5 separate regions of the Homo sapiens genome follow, and all the other regions are linked to region 4. The links are contacts of gene promoters, found by promoter capture Hi-C in blood cells and fetal thymus (Javierre and others, 2016). All regions are on one chromosome and are shown on one strand. The core of a region is centred on a gene start or on the middle of the fragment in contact, and the rest is flanking DNA. Distances in the headings are between cores, read along the strand shown.

Evidence for each region. The method cuts DNA at HindIII sites, captures the fragments that hold promoters and counts their contacts. A CHiCAGO score of 5 or more calls a contact.
Region 1: a fragment that was not itself captured here is called in contact with the fragment with the promoter of AOAH in region 4 in 1 of 17 cell types (M1 macrophages); the score reaches 6.0 in M1 macrophages.
Region 2: a fragment that was not itself captured here is called in contact with the fragment with the promoter of AOAH in region 4 in 1 of 17 cell types (total CD8 T cells); the score reaches 5.1 in total CD8 T cells.
Region 3: a contact is called between a fragment that was not itself captured here and the fragment with the promoter of AOAH in region 4, in 1 of 17 cell types (naive CD8 T cells). The highest score is 5.2, in naive CD8 T cells.
Region 5: a fragment that was not itself captured here is called in contact with the fragment with the promoter of AOAH in region 4 in 1 of 17 cell types (total CD8 T cells); the score reaches 5.1 in total CD8 T cells.

Annotation. Positions count from the first base shown.
Region 1 is chr7:36,955,672-36,958,371 of GRCh38, forward strand. All of the region lies in intron 16 of ELMO1 (engulfment and cell motility 1), which reads right to left. Among named protein-coding and RNA genes, the nearest start is that of MIR1200, 38 kb to the left of the region's middle. The HindIII fragment of the contact is 577 bases long and covers 1,002-1,578 here.
Region 2 is chr7:36,928,663-36,931,362 of GRCh38, forward strand. The region is part of intron 16 of ELMO1 (engulfment and cell motility 1); the gene reads right to left. Among named protein-coding and RNA genes, the nearest start is that of MIR1200, 11 kb to the left of the region's middle. The HindIII fragment of the contact is 1,557 bases long and covers 490-2,046 here.
Region 3 is chr7:36,865,386-36,868,085 of GRCh38, forward strand. All of the region lies in intron 20 of ELMO1 (engulfment and cell motility 1), which reads right to left. Among named protein-coding and RNA genes, the nearest start is that of MIR1200, 53 kb to the right of the region's middle. The HindIII fragment of the contact is 1,511 bases long and covers 659-2,169 here.
Region 4 is chr7:36,723,244-36,725,943 of GRCh38, forward strand. It overlaps AOAH (acyloxyacyl hydrolase), which reads right to left and starts at 1,251. Exons shown (of 21, transcript NM_001637.4): 1 at 779-1,251. The coding sequence starts at 905. The HindIII fragment of the contact is 12,094 bases long and covers 1-2,700 here.
Region 5 is chr7:36,977,613-36,980,312 of GRCh38, forward strand. The region is part of intron 16 of ELMO1 (engulfment and cell motility 1); the gene reads right to left. Among named protein-coding and RNA genes, the nearest start is that of ELMO1-AS1, 19 kb to the right of the region's middle. RefSeq lists a silencer at 2,499-2,699. The HindIII fragment of the contact is 942 bases long and covers 919-1,860 here.

The DNA of each region.
Region 1 (2,700 bases), core at 40-2,539, 230 kb after region 4:
GATCCAAATCACTTCTTGCTGTCCCTTGCTACTTCCCCAGGGTCCCAAAGTCTACCCTATTCGTGACCTTAATCCTTTATTCAGGCTGTTGCCTCATCTTTAAATTCCTTCCCTGACACCCTCTAGCCCATTCCTATCCAAAATGGGTGGTAAATTCTTGATATCTTTCAAAGTCCAGTTCAGATATCTCCATTCTTGTTCTTTGTAGGATCCCAGCTCCCTACTCACCCAAGAGGATAAACTGTTCTCACTTCTCTTTTTCAGTATAATGCTAACTCAACAGGGCTACTGGATTCCATGTCTCTCTCCTCTGCTAGACCACTCGATGCTTTAGAAGATCCCTTTTTCATGTTTAGATCTCTAGGTCTTAACACAGTGTCGTGATGCAAAGTAGGTGTCCACCTCAAATTTATTTATCTCAATACCTGTTCCCTTTCTGAGAGCCTTTTCTTGTCTAGGGTGTCCTGAAGGCTACATATATTTCTTGGAGGCTGAATAGGTGTACTTCTTGCTTCTGCTTTCTGCTTCCAGACCACTATCCTTTCCACTTGCTAACCTCCTGCCCAGTTCCTTTGAGGTGCCTGCCATGGGACTACAGCCTTCCTTATGTTATTTATTCTGCTTTTGGTCATGCCACAATCCATTGATGATTTTCTTATCCTTCTCTTGGTCAGGGCAGAATCTATAATTCCCTTCAAATTCTGCATATGCCTTCTTGTCTTTTTTGAAATAAAATAATTAAGTCAGAAACTTTCAAAACAAGGCCTTGTTCTCTTCTACATCCAAGAAGTAATTTCAGACCCAAATGCCATCTGATCAATCATCATGTTATATGTTTGTAAAGGACAATTCCAAAATAGGCTAGACTGCATATAAAAAAAAGGTCACTTTATTCAACAAGTTTTATTTTATAGCTCAAAAATGCACCCAGGCGTACAAGAAAACTAATTAGACTTGAAGACTACCAAGTGATGCCATCTTGTGACAGCTTATAGTGACAAAGCTTCTTAGCAGTTGTGAAAAAGACTTTCATAAAAAATATGTTGTTCCTATATAAAAATCATCGATCGGGCAATTTTTTAAATGACTACTTTGAAATGGGAAGAGTGAGAAAGTGGAACTTAATGAGTAAATAATCAGTAGCCTACAGGTTTGATTACAACGCCGGAAAAAATGGCAAGAAATCATGAGCCAAGGAAAGCACGTGTTGATTGCCCTTTCCCAATAACTACTCTTCTGGTAGCCTGTTTCCCAAGTCCAAAATGCTCAGTGGCGAGCAAAGAAAAATATCATTTCCAAGTTATGTTCCATGGTAATGTTGTCGATTTCCCACAAACTGTGATCTCCCCAAGAGATAGCCAAAGCTATTTAAGGGCTGTCAGCCTTGTTTCTGTGGAGAGGATGGCACCAGCTCTTTTCCAATGTAAATATGAAGTGCTCTCCATGAAAACAGTATTTGTGGAAGCATTCAACCAACTTAGTAATTCTGAAATACATTCAGGCAAAGACCCCAGTCGCTGAGTGGTGATTTCCTAATCTAGAAAGTAATGAACAAATGAAGGAGTATGGCTCCTGGAAAGCTTGAAGTTGCCTTTGACAGGATTGAGGCAAAGCCTTGCAGCTCTGCAGCCCCTACTGGACCACTGCTCCTCCTTTCTGCTTCCAGACCACCGCCCTTTTTACTCCCTAACTCCCTGCCCAGTTCCTTTGAGGTGCCTGACATTATACTATCCACTATCCCTCTTTATGACACTTACTCTCCACCTGGTCATGCCACAATTCATTGACGATTTTCTTACCCTTCCCTCTCTTTATCATCATTCTTAGTAACTTCAATATCCTCACAGATGATCTACCCAATACCTAGCTTCTCAGTTCCACAACCCTCCTCAACCCAAAGGTCTTGTCCTTTATAATCTCCTAAAGCAGCTTTTGCTGTGACTGTAGCCTAAGCTTTGTCATTGAAAATACAGAACCATTGCTGAAGTCGTAAGTTTACAAGCACCATCTTGTGTCTTTCCAATTCACTCTCTCTAGTATGCCCATTCTGTGGAGTCCTGACAAGATAAGTAAACAACAAGGAAGATGCCCCAAGTGTGGAGAGAACAATTGTTCTGAGAGAAGGCTAACCACCAACAACCTGCTGACACAACATCCTGTTCCCAAATACCTCGCTTTGCATGTAGCCCCAGCAGCACAAGCTTATCTGTAGGTAGCCCCTCCGGCACCACCCTGTAAAACTTCCCTCCAGATCCTGTCTCTTTGCAGACAGCTCCTTCTCTGCTGTGCTGCCCATTGCTTTCTTTAACTTACTACTGTCTTTGTAAATTATTTTACCACCCACAATGCTGGCTCCAATCAGTTGCAACCTGCAACACATTCCAAAAGTTCTCTGATCCTGCTGTGACTCTTAACATTGCCACCTTTTCCTTGTCCATCACCCCATTCATGGCTTCACTTTCCTCATTACCTAACTTCTATTCCATTATAATTATAATCTCTCCTTTTGTATTCATGAATACATCCCCAGTACCTCTTCTCTCTATCATATTTGCTTAGCAAAACCAACCTAGCTTAAATCCTATTCTCTGCCTCCTCCACCCACCTGAACAGCCGAACAGGCTGGAGAAAAGCATACAATGGTGCTGTCTGGTCTCATTTAAATTTATGACCTTAACTAACAAGAGAGTTCTTAGTTCT
Region 2 (2,700 bases), core at 18-2,517, 210 kb after region 4:
GAGTAAACTCTCAGCCCCATTCCCAGGCCAGACTGTAACTATTACCTATGGTCTAAAGTGCAGTCAGTCATCCCACCCACCAGGGCTGTGGGAGAGGCCTCAGGGAATCAGACAGTCCTGCTGAGGAACTAGGGGTCTTCTTCCACTAGATTAAATGTGAAAGGGAGCTTTTCTGAAAGGTGAGAATGTACTAAAGTGTGGCATATGACACACAAAGAGCTGCACAGCACGTGCACCCACAACAAGGGACCAGAAAGACAGGAGGGACTGGTAGCAGCATGACCTCACTAGTCATGGGCAACCATCACCTATGGAAGTTTTATCTGGCCAGCCACTGAGCTACATGCTGCATCTGCCCTAATAGTGGAGATTACTAAGAAAGGGCAGTTGAGAGAGGTTAAGAGTTTTACTCGGGGCACCTGGCTAGCAAGTAGCAGACTCTGCTAGAACCAAAGCCCCATACTCTCTAGTACTGCCTCTAATGGGGTAAGCTTGGTCTAGGCAGCTACAGATTGGGGTATGGATTCCTGCCAGGCTTACTTCCTGATGTCCAGGGGCTGGCCGCACCACCAGCACTGCACTGACTCTTTCATCCACATAGAAGTGGGGTCAAGCTCCACATGAAAGTGCAAGTGCTGCCACCTCCTCTTAGTTCCCTAGGGTCACTCCCCCGTTAAGTCTCCTGCCTCTCAAATCTGAGTTTTCTGATGGAGTGCACACCAAAGCATTGGTAAATACACATCAAGGCATTAGATATGATGGAATGCACATCAAGACACAGGTAAATACACATCAAGGCATCAGATTGAAAATTTCTCTAAGCTGAGATTAAAATGATCACATAAATATTTCTTAATGGGGCAACATGCCACCCTCCAAACCTTTATTAAGCATGCTTTATGGTCTTCCAGCTCAGTGTTTAGTGTGGCCCAGCCCAGAATGGTCAGCACTCATATAATACTTGTTGAAAAAATAAACAATGAATGGGTCAAGCAGCTGATGACTTTTATAGAGAGTATGTCTTAGACTCACTGTAACACCACAATGTGAAAATAGCTGGCGATGTATACTGAAATATTATATATTCAAGTCTATGATGGTCAAATCTATTGTACTGGCTTTCAAATGCACTTGAAAACCATTACTCCCAAGTGAGTCCCCTGGAAACAAGCCAGAGCTTGTCCGGTCCATGAGTTACTCCCAAAGTATAAGTAAAGAGGTTCATCAGCTCTGCATATCCCTTCGGGAGCAATTGAGAAAATGAATAGTCTGCTGCTCCATGAGATCCAAGTGGCCTAATGAAATAGTGCATCTCCACAAGGCCCTAAATTATGTTGAGAGATTATGTTGGTCATTAGGTAGCACCCCTACTGTGAGGAGCACTGGTCAACGCAAATCAAAGAGAGTTGGGAAACACATCCAGTCACTGAGGAGTCATGAGCTCATTGCCTATATAAAATGCAACTGAACTGACTACCCTGGTGTACGGGTCTCCCCAGCCCATGGGCAAGCTACTATTTGCCAGGGAATACTTATGCCCTCTGGATGTGTCTAGAAATGGTTAGGTGGCTTTTTGGGCCCAATGTAGTTATGTTAACAAAATCAATAGCAAGCCAGTGTTAGGCTAATTCAAAAGCTGTATCTTGCTTTCAAATGGCAGATTCAGTGAATTTTAGTCCATGTTCATATACTGTAATATTTTTGGATGTGCCTTTTTAAGATAAAAAGAGTAGAAAGTCTAGCTCCATGCAATTCCCTCAAATGAAAACTACAATTTCCTAACCTTTGAAGGTTCATTTCTCTTAGGCTGTCATTAAAATTACATATGCTTTTAATTTGCTGAGTTGCATTTAGTGGGAAGCCTCCCAAGCCACATGCTGTGCTCTGTTACTCACTCCTGTATTCCAGGGGCATTGCTCCTCAAAAGAGTAGTCATAATTGAAATACCCTCTAAGATAGGATAAAATCATCTTCTACAGAACATGCTCAGGCACATCATTTTTTAATGCTGTGTTTTTAGAAACACCTCACTGATTTTTTAAAATAAGCTTGACTCTGCTTTCCTCCCTTAGTGAGAAAGTCTATCATTCCAAACATGTCATACTCACAATTTCAGCTGTTTTCCAATAAGGCAAGGGCAAAAACGGTCAAAGCATGTTTTCTAGGGTGAGAAAGACATGCTTCCTCTCTTTCTGCACAAAGGGGACACGCAGAAAAATTCAGTGAACCTTTTCAGACTCAACTTTGAGGTGAGAACATGCGCACCTTCAGTCTCCTATCTCTTCCTCCATCAGTCCTCAAAAGCGGTCAGAATGGATAAGAGTTTCTTTCTTTCCTATTACACTTCATTCATTTTTGTCAATTTGATAGTTAAGAAATGTAGTCTAAAATAATACAGAATTTAATAAGATGAAAGCTTTGGTCACTATCATGCTTATTGGGCACCATGCTAGAATGAAAAGGATGGATACAAATGTGGAATAAAATGTGCTTCCTTTAGAACATTTAAGGCAGCTTTTCGGGATTTATCCCAGAGAGTCAATCTCCCAGGACCAGTACTAGCTGCTTAAGACGTAATGGATGCTACTGGAATAGGGTCCTGTGGTGTAAGAACTTGTGGCCTTAAATAAAACTCTTCTTAAGACCTCAGTTTCAGGCCAGGCATGGTGGCTCACGCCTGTAATCCCAGCACTTTGGGAA
Region 3 (2,700 bases), core at 164-2,663, 140 kb after region 4:
AAGGCAAAAAACACTCATTCATGTAGTACATAACAGAGATTACCTTCTTCAGGCAGTTACAACTCTCCAGCCCCAATCTATCTTAGCAGCGTAACCGGCCAATAGTTCTCCAATCCATATTCTTCTCCCCATCCCCATCCATCCTATACTCTGAATTCAACATTCCCAATTAGAGGATGCTTTTCACATGAGCAAAGGCCCTTGTGCCTTTTCAGACTTTTTCCTCCTTTTGGAAAGTCTTCTCCTCATTCTCTGCCTGGCCAATTCCTTTTCAAAAGCTAGATCAGATGCCATGTCCTGCATCACCTTTCTCAACTCTCCCAGGCTCCATGTTTAATTTTTTTTGGCATAGACATATTGAATTGTAATTGCATATTTAAATATAAATGTTATCTACTGGACACCTAGGGCCAGGGGCCAGGTCATATTTATCTTTGGATTCCTGGCACCTAGGACAAAGGAGATGCTCAATACATTGCTGAATGAATGAATGAATGGATGATGAATGAAGTAAATGTGAATAAAGGACTTTTTGGCTAAGACCAGGGTTTTCAAACTGATGCTAGAACATCAGCTTCAGTAGAATATGCTTCCTATTTCAGGTTTAAGCATCACACTGGAAAAACAAATGCTTAATTCTGGCAAATGGGAAGATGGAAGCTTCTCATACACCAAATATACTCCTATCTGAATCAATGGATCTTCACTCTGGTGATTTCATGTTGACTGTTGACCTAAAAGCCCCAAATTCAGTGAGACAAGCACCAAGAATGCCCACCTTAAAGCACACAGCCACAAATCAGCTTATTTTTATAAATTATAGAGTTTGAATTTAGAATCCTTAATCCTTGCAAATCAAAACCTTCCAACTGAATTTCCATCTACTCATGGCAATTCTTTTCAAGTCTCAATGAGAAACTTTCTGATCCCTGTGTGAAGAACCCACCATTTCTTGTCTCCGTAAAAATGTGCCTGCTGCACTGAACTCTGTTAAACATAACAGACTCTAAGCTCCAGAAAGACAGGACCCCAGCTACCCCATTTAGTCCTGTGCTATTTCAGGCACTCCCATGCTGACTGAGTGGATGACTGACTACATGAACAAATGCCTCTGCAATAGACACCTCAAGGGAAAGGACCAATTTTCTTCTTTCTGTTCTCAGGGCCCTGCTGGGAACATCAGCAGAGACCGAATGGGTGAGAGGATGATCAGTTATCAACACTCTGCCATTAACAAAGTATCTCTTTTACAGATGCCAATGTCTCAGTTTGCCTTGCTCGGTGATTAAGTTAACCATGGGTCTCATGGCACAAAATGTCAAAAGCTGTTCCACAGCTGGAAAAACTGTCCAAAGAGCCAGCAATTTGCCTTGGTTGTCATCCATCCACTGTGTACTGACAGACCTCTTATGAACACATTCTGGTCAATTCTCCTTTTAGGCTGCAGGTCCCCTTTTCCTACCCAGAAGTCCCAGAGGTAGACAGGAGGGCACCTCTGGAGTACGGGGAAAGGGGTGTGGGTTGGGGGGTTCAGCAGGTAAAATCGTGGCTTTCCTTCTGCCTTTTGATGTTTTGCTTGATGACATGGTATATATGAACACTAGTAACATTGCAAGACAAGTAAATTCCATGTATATGCTAATTAAAGGGCCAGGCTGCTTGAAATTCTGCTAGTCTTATCCCTCATGGCAGACTGGAAGAGCCCAGGGTAGCTAGAAATACGGGCCAGTGAGTCCCAGGAAGTAGCCTCTATTTGCAGTCTTATCTGTTTACAGTGGCGTACTCCATCCATCCATCATTCTCCAGCTGTCCATCCATCATCCATCTATCCATCATCATCCATCCTATGTTTTATGAGTGTCATGACAATATGTGAAAAATAAAGGTTGCAAAACATCATTTACTCGGTTTTACTTTTTTAGTCTCCTTTAAGGAGAGAGGAGTCTGATACAAGGCCAAATATACTACCTCACATGTTCAAATGAAATCATCTCCACATCTGTTATATGGGTGACTCTCATTTTTTTCTTGGTTAGCCAGGCTAGAAGTTTATCAATTTTATTCATCTTTTCAAAGTACCAGCTTTTGGTTTTGTTGATTTTCTCTACTGATTTCAGTTTCATTGATTTCTACTCTAAATTTTATATTTCTTTTCTTCTGCTTGCTTTAAGCTTAAATTGCTCTCCTTCCTTAGTGTCCTGAGGTGGAAGCTTTATTGATTTTCGTTCTTTCTTCTTTTCTAATGTAGTCATTCAATGCTATAAATTTCCCTCTAAGCACTGCCTTCACTGCATCCCACACATTTTGGTAAGCTGGATTTTCATTTTATTTAGTTTGAAACATTTTGTAATTTCTCTTGGGAATTCTTCCTGGAACTGTGGGTTATTTACAAGTGTGTTGTTAAATTTCCAAACATTTGGGGGATTTTCCAGCTGTCTTTCTGCTGCTGATTTCTAGTTTAATTCCATTGTGATTTGAGAACATACTTTGTCTAACTGCTATTCTTTAAATTTTTTAAGACATGCTTTACGGTCCAAAATGTGGTCTATCTTGGTGAATGTTTCCTTTGAGCTTGTGAAGGATGTGTATTCTGCCGTTGCTGAGTGGATTAGTCTATTAATGTCAATTAGATCAAGCTGATTTATGGTGCTGTTCAGGTCATCAATATTCTTGATCTTCTGCCTGCTTGGTCTACTGATT
Region 4 (2,700 bases), core at 1-2,500:
CATCTAAATGCCACCACTATTATGAGAATTCCCATGTTATGAGAGCTACAATGTGAATATCAAAGATCTTACCTTACTTCCTGCTCTCATCCAAAAAAAACAAACAAAAAAAACCTCTTGGAAATAAAACACTTCATTAACAGATGAGCCAAGAAGCCATATCAACGCTCAGCGTCTCCAGGTGATCGCCAAATCTGGATTCTCTGAGAGACGGAAGGAAGCTAAGATGGTTGAGTCCTTACTGTGTGCACATGCCACAGATTTACATGCATGGTCACAATTTCCATGGTATCCCTATGAGATGGGTCTCACTCACTTCAGTTCACCAATAAGGACACAGAAGCATGGAGAGGGTTAAGTACATTGCTCCAGGTTTCCACAGCCAGTAGGAAATGGGAGAGAAGGGTAGGAGGAGGGCAGTGATTCAAACTCAGATGTGTTTATATGAGGTCAAAGCCCATGAAAAGCAGTAAAAATTTCAGACTAAAATAGCCTGAAATAATAGTTACCTATACAAGAAGAAAAAATTCCAATCGCCAATGAGGTGGAAGAGTTTTATGCCCAATTTAAACTAGTATGCTTTTTATTCACATAGATGTATGTAGTGTCAATGTCTACTCTTAGACTCCACATTTCTCTGTGTCAGTGAGGTTACTGGTGCCTTACCTGGAATCTTACAATTCTTGATTTAATAAAATATGTGATTTATTACGCAAGCAAAGTACTGGATCCCATTGTTATGTCTACATAGAAAATACAAAAATATTTATTTGCATACCTACACAGGTGTGCCCATTCGAGAGGCTGGGCCTGGACTGGTCATCGTTGGCTGGAGAGGCCGAGGACTGAAGAGACAGGAGCAAGAATAGAGGCGCCACCGTAAGGATTTTCCAGGGGGACTGCATCTCCGAGCTATGCACCCCAAGTGATCACCCGGCTTTGGAAGCTCCCAACTGAGGGATGCTGGAGCTGAGGCTGCAGAATCAATTGATCTCTCTCTCCTTCTCTTCCTCACTCTCTTTGACACACACACCCCACCCTCTCACATACACACTTTTCAATAAGTGTGAAGTGAATAAAAGCACACATAAACACTCACAGACCCACAGCTTGCTCTTGTTGGACCCTGAGAGAGCCACACACAAAGAGCTGGAGGGAGTCTGTGGTGTGCGGTTCTGCTGAGGTAAAGACTGCAGGATAAAGAAAACCCAAGTTGCACAGTGGCACAACTTCCGTGCTCCCTGGCTCAGTGAAGTTAGTGTGCATAAACCCCGTGAGCCTCGAGGCTTGCCGGAACTGATCTGTTGGGTTGGTTAGGAGGCCCTTCCCCTTTCATTCTTGCAAAACAAAACAAAACGATACTAAAGCCAAAACTGAGAAGAAAAAAGAAAAAAAAAACTAATCCACAAGCACACAACCCTTTAACAATTTGATCAGCAGCACCCACATATTGTAGAAATTCTAATTGGTTACATTCAGAACTTACTTAGTCTTGTTTTCAACAGCTTTATATGGTAAGGTTGTGATCCTTATTTTGTTGTAAAAGGATATTCTGGTCAAATAATATCTTTCCTCTGGAGAAATTGGGTTATTCCTTGAAGGGTCAAGGCCTTTTATTTGGTGTGCAGAAAATAAACAGTACAGAAAATAATGGGCAGTTAGCATGGTGGGATTTTAGACCTAATGAGAAAAAACATGGGTTAGAATTAATCAATTCACAGTTGCTAGGCTGTGCACAATGCATCTTTTTTTTCTCCAGAATTTCGAAGTGCATTTTGTGGATGATTTGTTAAGAGACTGATTTTCTGCTCTGAAGAATAGAACTGAACACTGTCTTTCTGAGGGAAAAAAAAAATCGGAACCAGATCATAGATAAAAGACATATAATCTAAATGTTTCTCTCTAAAATAAGATAAAACAAAATCATATGCCATTCTCAGTCAAGATAAGAGGACAGGGCCAAAGTACCACAGTCTAGGTAAGTGTAGGAGGTCATGAGATTCTGTTTCTCTCTGCTTAGGCTCTGAGGGAGCTTATTACAAATTTTGAAATATTATAGAAGCTATCTAAATTGTTAGCAATTAAAAAAAATAGCATTTGGAGTAGCAGGCAAAGTTTTAGAGTAGCATCCTTTCCAGGATGTAGGAAATACCAGTTTTTATGGTTGGAAGATTTCTTGTGCAGTCATTAGTCTTACAAGCACCGATGGGGCTACAATTCCCAAACCTGCTGCAGAGATAGCACAAGTCAGAGTGTTTCCCTAATTACACTTCCAGCCCAATACTGAGGATATCGTTAGGCGTCCATGGGCCTGTGACTTCCTCTGACTCTAAGGTGCTGCTGCTTCAGTTCTTCACTCTGTGACTAAGGGGAGCTCTGGGGTCACTAGGACCACCACAGGGGTGAGGCCTAGAGAAGTTCCAGAGACTTCCAAGGGAGGCTAAATAAAGGACTGATTGATTAGGAACTCAGATTGTGAAGACAGAAAGGCTCATGCTTACGTCTCATGTCTACTGTTTATTCTGAGTAATATATTAGACCAGTGATGTAACTTTCCCCCCTTCAGTGTCTTGTTTTTGTTGTTGTTGTTGTTGTTTGTTTGTTTTTTGAGACAGGGCCTTGCTTTTTCATCCAGGCTGGAGTGCAGTGGTGTGATCACAGCTCACTGCAGTGTTGACCTCCTGGGTTCAAGTGATCTTC
Region 5 (2,700 bases), core at 140-2,639, 250 kb after region 4:
TTTGGTCCGCCCAGGTTTCTCCTTGGAGGTTGCTTTGTGAAACTAGGATAGCTACACCTCTTGAATTTGTTTTTACAGTTCAGTTTCTCTTAGGTGTTTAGAGGGGAAGGAGGGCGGAAGGCAAAGATAGCTGTTGGACAATTTGTTTTCACCGATTACTTTCAAGTAGTTTTCAAACAACTCTTACAAGGGCCCAGTTTTTGAAAGTGGATAAATTTTCGTCAGGTAAACAGGCATGGAAATGAATGCATAGGTGAATACACAGATGACTTAGTGAATACATAAATAAATGTGGTTTGTTGAATTTTTTTCTTATTGTAGCTTCCATATTCTGGGGAATTCCAACTCTGAGGCTAATGATTGCCTGAAAAATAAATCTCCATGCAGGTTAATCCATATATACTCACAGCTGGGAATCCCAAGGCCTAGAACAGTACCTGATACAGGGTTGGCATTCAGCAAACATTGATTGTTGAATAAATTGAGCAAGAAAATGTGAACTTTGTCTCTTGTTAACAGTGGATATTAGCAAGTCAATGAATGTTTCTGAACCTCACTTTCTTTACCTGTAATAAGGTAACTGCATGCTACTACCCTCCCCTCACTCCCTGTTGGCTCATGGAGCCCAGAGGTAGAGCCCCAGGAAGCCACACCAGGGGACCTAAGTTGTCACCAGATGAAATCTATCTGACATCCTAGGACTCAGGTTACTTCAAGATCTAGGATGCTATAAGTTCACAGTAAATAGATGTCCAGATGTGACAGAGAAAGAAATCACCCCTTCTCCTCTCTTGACAGAATACATCATGGGTATGAAGTGCATGGCCGGCGGGAGTGCAGGGGGTGTGGAGAAGAAAGTCATCAAGAAGTGGCTGGGAACCTGCATGTGAAAGAACCAAAAATGTACATGTTTCTCAAAGCTTTCATTATGCCTTCAAGAAGAAGAAAGAGTTGGGGTAGGATGGCTAAAGCTCAGCTATCCAGAAAGATTTATGGGCCATCTGCTGAGACCAAGAACATCTTGACTTACAAATGTAAAAGCCACCGATTATTTATGGCAGGTCACAGCCTTCTTGAATGCCGCCAGGCATCTCCCTAGAAGCACAATATCATTTGATGTTGACTGGCTTCCAAAACCAGGAAACTACATACACATCACTGTAGCTCCACATTCTGGAGCTTTTGCTACCCTAGAAATAGGTTTCCAATTATTCCTCCTCAATAAACAAGGATGAGTTGTTAGGAGATATTAGATTTGAAGCATAATAGTAAGCCCTTATTTTACAATCCACAGAGTACATGGGATATATTAATAAATGTGCTCTCTAAACATTTCTATGTACCAGGTAGAGTCAATAAGATCTATATTTTTATCCAGGAGAAAAAATACTAAAGATTGAAGGGGCAACATGGCGAAACCTAAATCTTACTTGGTGGCTATGCTGAAACTTGACCCAGGCCCTGGCTTGTAAGTGTAGTGCCTTTCTCTCTGGGTGGCCTTTAATGCTAGAGGGTTGGGGTAGTGCCTGAGGATTATTTAGGAGAATAATCTGAAAGTAGAGAGAAACTTCCATGGCAAAAGAGCAGAACTAGACATTCTGTGAGACATGAAAAATAAATGGCTTCTACCCAAGGGATGGAATCAGACTATTTTCCCCTCCCATACATATTATAATTTACTAATCACTCACACATACATCATTTATATTTTCATTTGTTAACAGCCTCATGGGAAATGTACCTTCTTCCCTTTCTACAGATGAGGAAGCTAAGGTTCACAGAGATTAAGGAGTCCCTCTACCCAGTTCTCAGAAAATTTTAGAGGGGACAGAAGCATGGCTCATAAGGTGGTCTTTGCAAAGCTTCTTACGCCTACTTTGCCCAGATATTTGACGCTGGCTCAGGGAATCTAGGACGCGGCTGTCATCCCTTGTCCCCCATCAATCTCTAAAGCTAAAAGGTGTGGCTCTGCTACTACCCTCATGGTACTAGAAAGAGTGCCCTGGAACCTTTAGCATTAAGTAGTCTAGGTCTAGGGACAGTGCCAATGTTGGTGGTTTTCAAACCAGCTCCTGCTTTGATATCCCTCTTTGTATATGACAAAGTTTCTGAAATGCGGACTTCAAATTGCTGGCTCATTAGGCAAGGAGGGGGCTCCATCTCACCTGCTGGGACCTGTGGCCTAGATGACTCTAGTTAGAACTGAGTTGCCCAGAGCAGCCCTGACTTGGGCTACCAGTGTGAAGGCCTGAGTTCCATTAGCTCATGGGTGTTTCTTTCCAACCAGGCAAGTGGACGTCAGAACTGCCCCAGATGCTATCTTAAATATTCAGCTGCAAGAATTCCAACCAAGTTGGAAAGAAACTTTATTTCATTATACTTCCAGGTCTGGGAATGATGCCAGTGAACAGCTCTCCTTGACAGGTCTCTCATCACTTACAGCTCAAAGGAAAAGAGAAGTTAGCTCCCAAAGCGCAAGGCTGCAGCCCTCCTTGTCAGATGGCAACACCTCCACGGAACAGCTGAGCAAGAGGATGAGTAAAGAGCTGTCTGCCTTATCACCAAAACCCTGCATACTGATGATAATTCCCTGTATGCTTCTTTTCAAAGTCTTGCACAAGGCACTGAGCTGAGGCAAGGACATAAGAGAGGGATGAAAAATCAGTTTCAGCTGTAAGACAATTCTGATATCTCACTAGC